2 separate regions of the Homo sapiens genome follow, and region 1 is linked to region 2. The links are contacts of gene promoters, found by promoter capture Hi-C in blood cells and fetal thymus (Javierre and others, 2016). All regions are on one chromosome and are shown on one strand. The core of a region is centred on a gene start or on the middle of the fragment in contact, and the rest is flanking DNA. Distances in the headings are between cores, read along the strand shown.

Region 1 (3,010 bases), core at 403-2,902, 160 kb before region 2:
GGAAAACCATGGGGGGATATTGGGCTGAATAACAGGCTAGTTGTCTCAAATCTATGGTATAAAAAGCATTAGAGTGAAAGATGACATTCTACTTCTTGCCTCACCAGAATGAACTCTGCTTAGAAAATAAGCTAAGAGCCACTTCAGGAAGAAGTTCTAGGGTGTCCTCTCTTTGCATGTCTACTGACTCCCAGTCATGTCATCTTGTCACTGGAATCAGTGTCAACACCTACAGCCCCCAGACTACAAAGAAAACCATCTGCCCAGTAATAGCGATCCCAGCCCATCCCTCATATCAGAATTTCAGGAGAAAAGCAGACAACCACTAATCCATTTCCTTTTGTCTTCCCTTTCCCCCACCTCTAGACTTACTACTTACCTGAGCCAAGTATGCACCATAACCAGTGGCCAGCGAAGGGGCTTCATAGGCTACACCAAGCATGTCCACATAACCGAGGAAGCTAACAGGACACAATGGGTCAAAACTCATTTCACCTTAGATTCATCTTAGCTGAAGAAGGGGACCATGGGGTCTGAGTTAAAGTGGGATTCACTTGGGGAGAAGAGACAGAAGAGATACTACACAGGTACTAGGTTGGGTGGTAAAGGAAATAAGTTATTTGTATTCATATGAACCTCTCTCCATCAGCATAGCCTCCGATGACCATGGTGTTCCACAAAGGGTTCATCTTCGAGCGCCGGCTGTACATGGCCCTGGTCAGCCATGAATGAATAGCTCTAGGACTATAGCTGTGTCCATCTCCCAGAAGCTCCTCATCAATCCTTAAAAGGAATTGGTTGTGAGAAAAGGGAGAGAATTAAGTCGGGGTCTCCACCCATCCCCAAAAGAAGTTACCACACCTTCCCCCATTTTACACCTAATGCCAAAAACTTTATTGCAAACACAGATCGCCCACCTCCAACAACTCTTCCAGTCCCCCGCTGCAACAAGTCCCCCCATCCCATCGAAGGGAATAAAAAACAGGGGACTCCCCTCTCTACTTGGGAACCACTCTCCTGTTCTCTGGATGACTTACACCATCTGGCCGAGAACTTGCTTCAAATACTGGAAATCAGCGTAGTCGCCAGAGGCACCCAGCATGGTACTGTTGTTGACTCGCATAATGCGAGAGATGTTGCGGAAACGAGCCAAGGAGCCGTAGGATCCCAGCATGTCTGCGGCAATCACCACTCCGCCCTCGAACTTAACGCCGAGGACTGAGGTCCCGGTCACCATGGGGTTCCTAAAGAGTGAGAACGGTGGGAGCTGAGAGGGGGGATGGACTGCGCCCTCTTTCCGCGCACTGAGCTGCGCTTCTGATTTTCTATAATTCCTTCCAATTATTCTGCATTCTCCAGGACTCCGCGCCCTGAGCTCCCCTGCCGTTCGCGCGCCCCCGGGGTCCCCGCCTCACCTTCCCGGGCTCTCAAAACCAGCCGGCAGCACCAGGCCCCACGGTCCCTCCCGCTACGCAAACGAAAGCGCCGAGAACTTACTGGGTCCGCGTGATTGGACCTCTGTAAAGTGCAGACGCCGGATCCATGAAGGAATCGGGAGTGGACGGAATGCGGTAAAACTGTCCTGGGGCCGGACCCCCCGCCCAAAGTCCGGACCGCGACCCCAAAAACGCTTCCATCTTAGTCACGGTAGCAGAAAAAATGAAAGCGCTTGCGCCAACGGAAGCGGAAGTGATCCTTCAGTGTCATTTCTTTCTTTTTCCTGTAGACGACTTCCAGCAGCCATGTTGATGAGGTCGTAGCTGAACATGCAGTAATCCTAGGTGGCGACCGAGACAGGGAGTTGAAATTGCCCAACATCGCTTCGCATCGCATCGCATCTCCGTGGAGTTTGGACCAGATCACAGCGTTCTAACACACGATTCAAGGAGGAGGGAGGCATGAAGGTGGGGTGGGGAGGTGGCCACTTAAAGACGCTGATCCTGAGTGAGACGTCACAATTTTTTATTTTATTTTTTATTTTTTTGAGACGGAGTCTCGCTCTGGCCCCCAGGCTGGAATGCAGTGGCGCGATCTCGGCTCACTGCAACCTCCGCCTCCCAGATTCAAGCGATTCTCGTGCCTTAGCCTCCCGAGTAGCTGGGATTACAGGCGCCTGCCACCACGCCTGGCTAATTTTTTGTATTTTTGCTAGAGATGGGGTTTCACCATGTTGGCCAGGCTGGTCTCGAACTCCGGATCTCAGGTGATCCGCCTGCCTCGGACTCCCAAAGTGCTGGGATTACAGGAGTAAGCCGCCTCGCCCGGCCTAGAAGTCACAGTTCTCATGTTCCTTTTGTATCATTATCAAAAAGCCCACATGAAAATATCAGTGAACACAGGATCTCTTACATCTGTACTCCTCAGAGCAGCCCCATGTGGCAGGCATTATTCGACCCATTTGGTAAATAGGAAACCGAGGCTTGCGGTGTAGTGATTTACCCAGTCACACAGCCGATAACGGTAGAACTGAATCTTGAAGCTAGAATAAAAAAAGGAATCAGGGCCGGGTGCGGTGGCTCATGCCTGTAATCCCAGAACTTTGGGAGGCCAAGACGGGAGGATCACTTGAACCCAGGAATTCAAGACCAGCCTTGGCAACATGGTGAGACCTCACCTCTACAAAACAAAACAAAACAAAAAATTAGCCAGGCCTGTAATTCCAGCTACTTGGGAGGGTGAGGTGGGAGAATCGCCTGAACCCGAGGGAGGTTGCAGTGAGCCAAGGTGGCGCCACTGCACTCCAGCCTGGGCAACAGAGCGAGACCCTGTCACAAAAAAAAAAAAAAAAAAAAAAAAAAAAAGAATACACTTGTGTATACCCTGTGGGGTGTGATAGCTCAGGTGGATCAAGCACTCTCTGTGGGACCTTAGACAAGTCTGAAAGTTTCCTTATTGTCAAGGGCCCTTGCCCACCTCTAAAGAAACAGAAAAATTCCATTGGAAGTGTAGGGGTGAAACTAAATTCCAGGGGTTTCCTTCTCAGTGTAACTCCATAGCAGGGGCTGGAAAC
Region 2 (3,298 bases), core at 429-2,928:
ATACGGTGGCTCACTTCAGGAGGCAGAGGGAGGAGGATTGTTTAAGACCAGCCTGGTTAACACAATGAGACATCTCTACCAAAAAAAAAAAAAAAAAGGCTTTTGAGCAAGGATAAGCTCCAGAGCACTGCCAAGAAAATGTGGTCTAAAGATGAAGGCAAACATATGACTGTGAAACATCTTATTAAGACCTCAGAAAAACAAAAGGTATTGGTTCAGAGTATAGTCATCCCTCAATATCTGTGGGGGACTGGTTCCAGGACCCCTCCTTGAATATCAAAATCCACAATGCACAAGTCCCTTATATACAATGCTATGGTATTTGCATATAACTCACACACATCCTCCATATACTTTATTTTTATTTATTTTTCTTTTGAGACAGGGTCTCGCTCTGTCACCCAGGCTAGAGTCCAGTGGCGCGATTTCGGCTCACTGCAACCACTGCCTCCGGGGTTCGAGCGATCCTCCTGCCTCAGCCTCCTGAGTAACTTGGACTACAGGAACATACCACCACGCCTGGCTAATTTTTTTGTATTTTTGGTAGAGATGGGGTTTCGCCATGTTGCTCAGGCTGATCTTAAACTCCTAGGCTCAAGTAATCTGGCCGCCTCTACCTCTCACAAGTGTTGGGATTACAGGCGTGAGCCATCACGCCTGGCCCTCCATATACTTTAAATCATTCCTAGATTATTTATGATAACTAATACAATGTAAATGCTATGTAAATAGTTGTTATACTATATTGTTCAGGGAATAATGACAAGAAAAGTCTGTACATGTTAAGTACAGGCCTAACTGTACAGTACATATCAGCAACAACATAACATTTTCACGACTTTTTTTTTTTTTTTCAGTATTTTTTCGTTTCTTTCTTTTTTTTTTTCAAAGGGATGGGGTCTCGTTATATTGACCAGGCTGGTCTCAAACTGCCTCAAGCAATCCTCCCACCTCAGCCTCCCAAAGTGGTGGGATTACAGGCATGAGCCACCACACCAGGCTCTCAAGTATTTTCAGTCCACAGTTGGTTGAATCTGGGATGTGGAACCTGTGGATACGGAGGGCTGATTGTGCTATTCAGTCATACAAAAGGCTGTTCAGAAGATTATGTTTCACAGATCCTTTCAACCGAAAAACAGAGTCTGTAAGAAGCTTAGGTCTCATAAAGAAGATATTTATGAGTGTGGCTTTTGTCTAATGGAGTAAATCCCAAGGAGAATCACAGGAGGCCCACAAAATCTTCTGTATCAGTAGAAACACTGCCATCTTGGATCAAAAAGGACAGAAACAGTACAAAATAGAGACCACTAGTTCCCCTAAAATTCTACTGGAAAGAAGCAGCCTGAGAAAAGAACTCAGGTAAAAACACACTCTAGCTTTGATGAAAAAGGAAGACTCAGAAGACAAAACCAAGAGTCTAGAGGGTAGAGCCAAGAACCACGGAGAATTATTCTTCTGCTTTGAGGCCTGATAAAAGAAACTCCAACATTTCCTGGATTTTGGAACAGCAAATAAAATCAATGACTCCTTTTTGTGCCTCCCATTCTCCCCTTTTATGTACAGAAATGTGTATATTGGTTATCTAATGCCTGTCTCACCATTGTATGCTAGGTACATGGGGAAAGGATAACTTGTCTCTTTGGTTCCACAAGTTCACAGATTGAGAAGAACTGTACTTGAGGAGCTGTGCTTAAGGAACTATACCTGGGGGGCTCATCCAACCGGACCTAATTTAGGTAATAAAACTCTGGACTCTGAGCTAACGCTACAATGGGATGAGACCCTGGGAGGGGGTCAGTGTATTTTCGACATGGAGGTATGTAAATTACTGGAGACCAGAGAGCAGACTATGACAGGCAGTTTCTAAGATGGCTCACAATGATCCCTGCACCTCCTGGTATTCACACCCATGGGTAATTCCTTCCTCTTGAGTGTGGGCTGCATTTAGTGAACAGAATGTAGCACAAGTAGAATGTCAATTCTGAGATTAAGTTATAAGAGGCCATGGTTTCTGCATAGGCACATGCTCTCTTGTTCACTTGTCAGATAGCCCAGGTGCCATGTTCTGAGCTGTCCTATGGAGAAGTCCATGTAGCAAAGAACTGAGGGAAGCCCCCAGACAACAGCCAGCAAGGAACTAAGGCCCTCAGTTCAGCAACCCACAAGGAACAGAATCCTACCAGTAACCACATAAATAAGCTTAAAAGCAGATCTTCCTGTTTGAGCCTTCAGATGAGACCCCAGCCCTGGCCAACAGCTTAAATGCCACCTCATGAGAAATCTTGAGCCAGAGGACCCAGCTAAGCTGGGCCTGGATTCCTGACCCACAGAAAGTATGATATATGTTTGTTATTTTAAGCCACTAATCTTTGGGGTAATTTATTATGATGCAATCAAATTATAGAGGTTTCCAAGGACTTGAAAAGAGAGATAAGATTATATGGAGAAAGGGGCCAATAAACCAACCTTGTAGTTAGCATTTGCAAAGTCTCTCCAACTAGAGGTGAGAAACTGGGGTCAGGAATAGGCGAGCCCTCACTGATTTCCTCCAAAGGTGGAGTCTGAGGTAAAACATCAGGACGACCAAGGTGAACGCCTGGAAAAAAGATAGAGAAGATGGGGTACAGTAAATACAAGGAAAAATATGTAGCAGCTAGGCTTCCTGGATAGAAATGGGAGCAGAGGTCCTGGCCAGACAAGATAAAGGCTCAGAAGGAAGGGAGGGAGTACCCAATCACATGGGGACCCCAGCCCTAGCGCTGACCTGGCTCCACTTCTGCCTTTGTTGTCACTTGTGCCTTGTGTTCCCCAGAGACCGATGGCTGGTAAGTAATGCAGGAGTTGCCACTGGAGCCTGCTCGCCGAGAGAAAGATGAGCCAGACCGAAACTTTTTGGAAGGAGAAGGCTTCACTTCAAAAGGGAAAGAGAGAGCCTACTTAGCAACTACCTTAGCAACTATTACCAAGACATAGATACAAATAATTGCTAGTATCCCCAACACACACCCAAAGTTGGTCTGAAAAGTGAAAAGGCTAATGTCAACAAAGACAGGCCTATGAATTACTATTCAGAGAACAAGGTGTTAGCTCACTTCACTTTCCAAGAGGCATGAAAACCTAGAAGAAAGGAAACATATCCACACCTAACCCCCCAACATGGAGCCTTGATGACTGCTTTACTTCCATCAGATGAAATGTACCCTATTGCATAATTCCTTTTTTTTTTTTTTTTTGAGATGGAGTTTCGCTCTTGTTGCCCAGGCTGAAGTGCAATGGCGCGATCTTGGCTCACTGCAAC

The links. The method cuts DNA at HindIII sites, captures the fragments that hold promoters and counts their contacts. A CHiCAGO score of 5 or more calls a contact.
Region 1: the fragment with the promoter of PSMB4 here is called in contact with a fragment that was not itself captured in region 2 in 4 of 17 cell types (erythroblasts, M2 macrophages, endothelial precursors and 1 more); the score reaches 5.6 in erythroblasts.

Annotation. Positions count from the first base shown.
Region 1 is chr1:151,398,215-151,401,224 of GRCh38, reverse strand. It overlaps PSMB4 (proteasome 20S subunit beta 4), which reads right to left and starts at 1,652. Exons shown (of 7, transcript NM_002796.3): 1 at 1,498-1,652; 2 at 1,038-1,244; 3 at 637-783; 4 at 380-461. The coding sequence starts at 1,637. RefSeq lists a silencer at 925-1,082 and enhancers at 851-1,572, 1,923-1,972, 1,573-2,295. The HindIII fragment of the contact is 7,561 bases long and covers 1-3,010 here.
Region 2 is chr1:151,241,736-151,245,033 of GRCh38, reverse strand. PIP5K1A (phosphatidylinositol-4-phosphate 5-kinase type 1 alpha) reads right to left here. Exons shown (of 16, transcript NM_001135638.2): 13 at 2,765-2,911; 14 at 2,467-2,596. Among named protein-coding and RNA genes, the nearest start is that of PSMD4, 11 kb to the left of the region's middle. The HindIII fragment of the contact is 1,047 bases long and covers 1,155-2,201 here.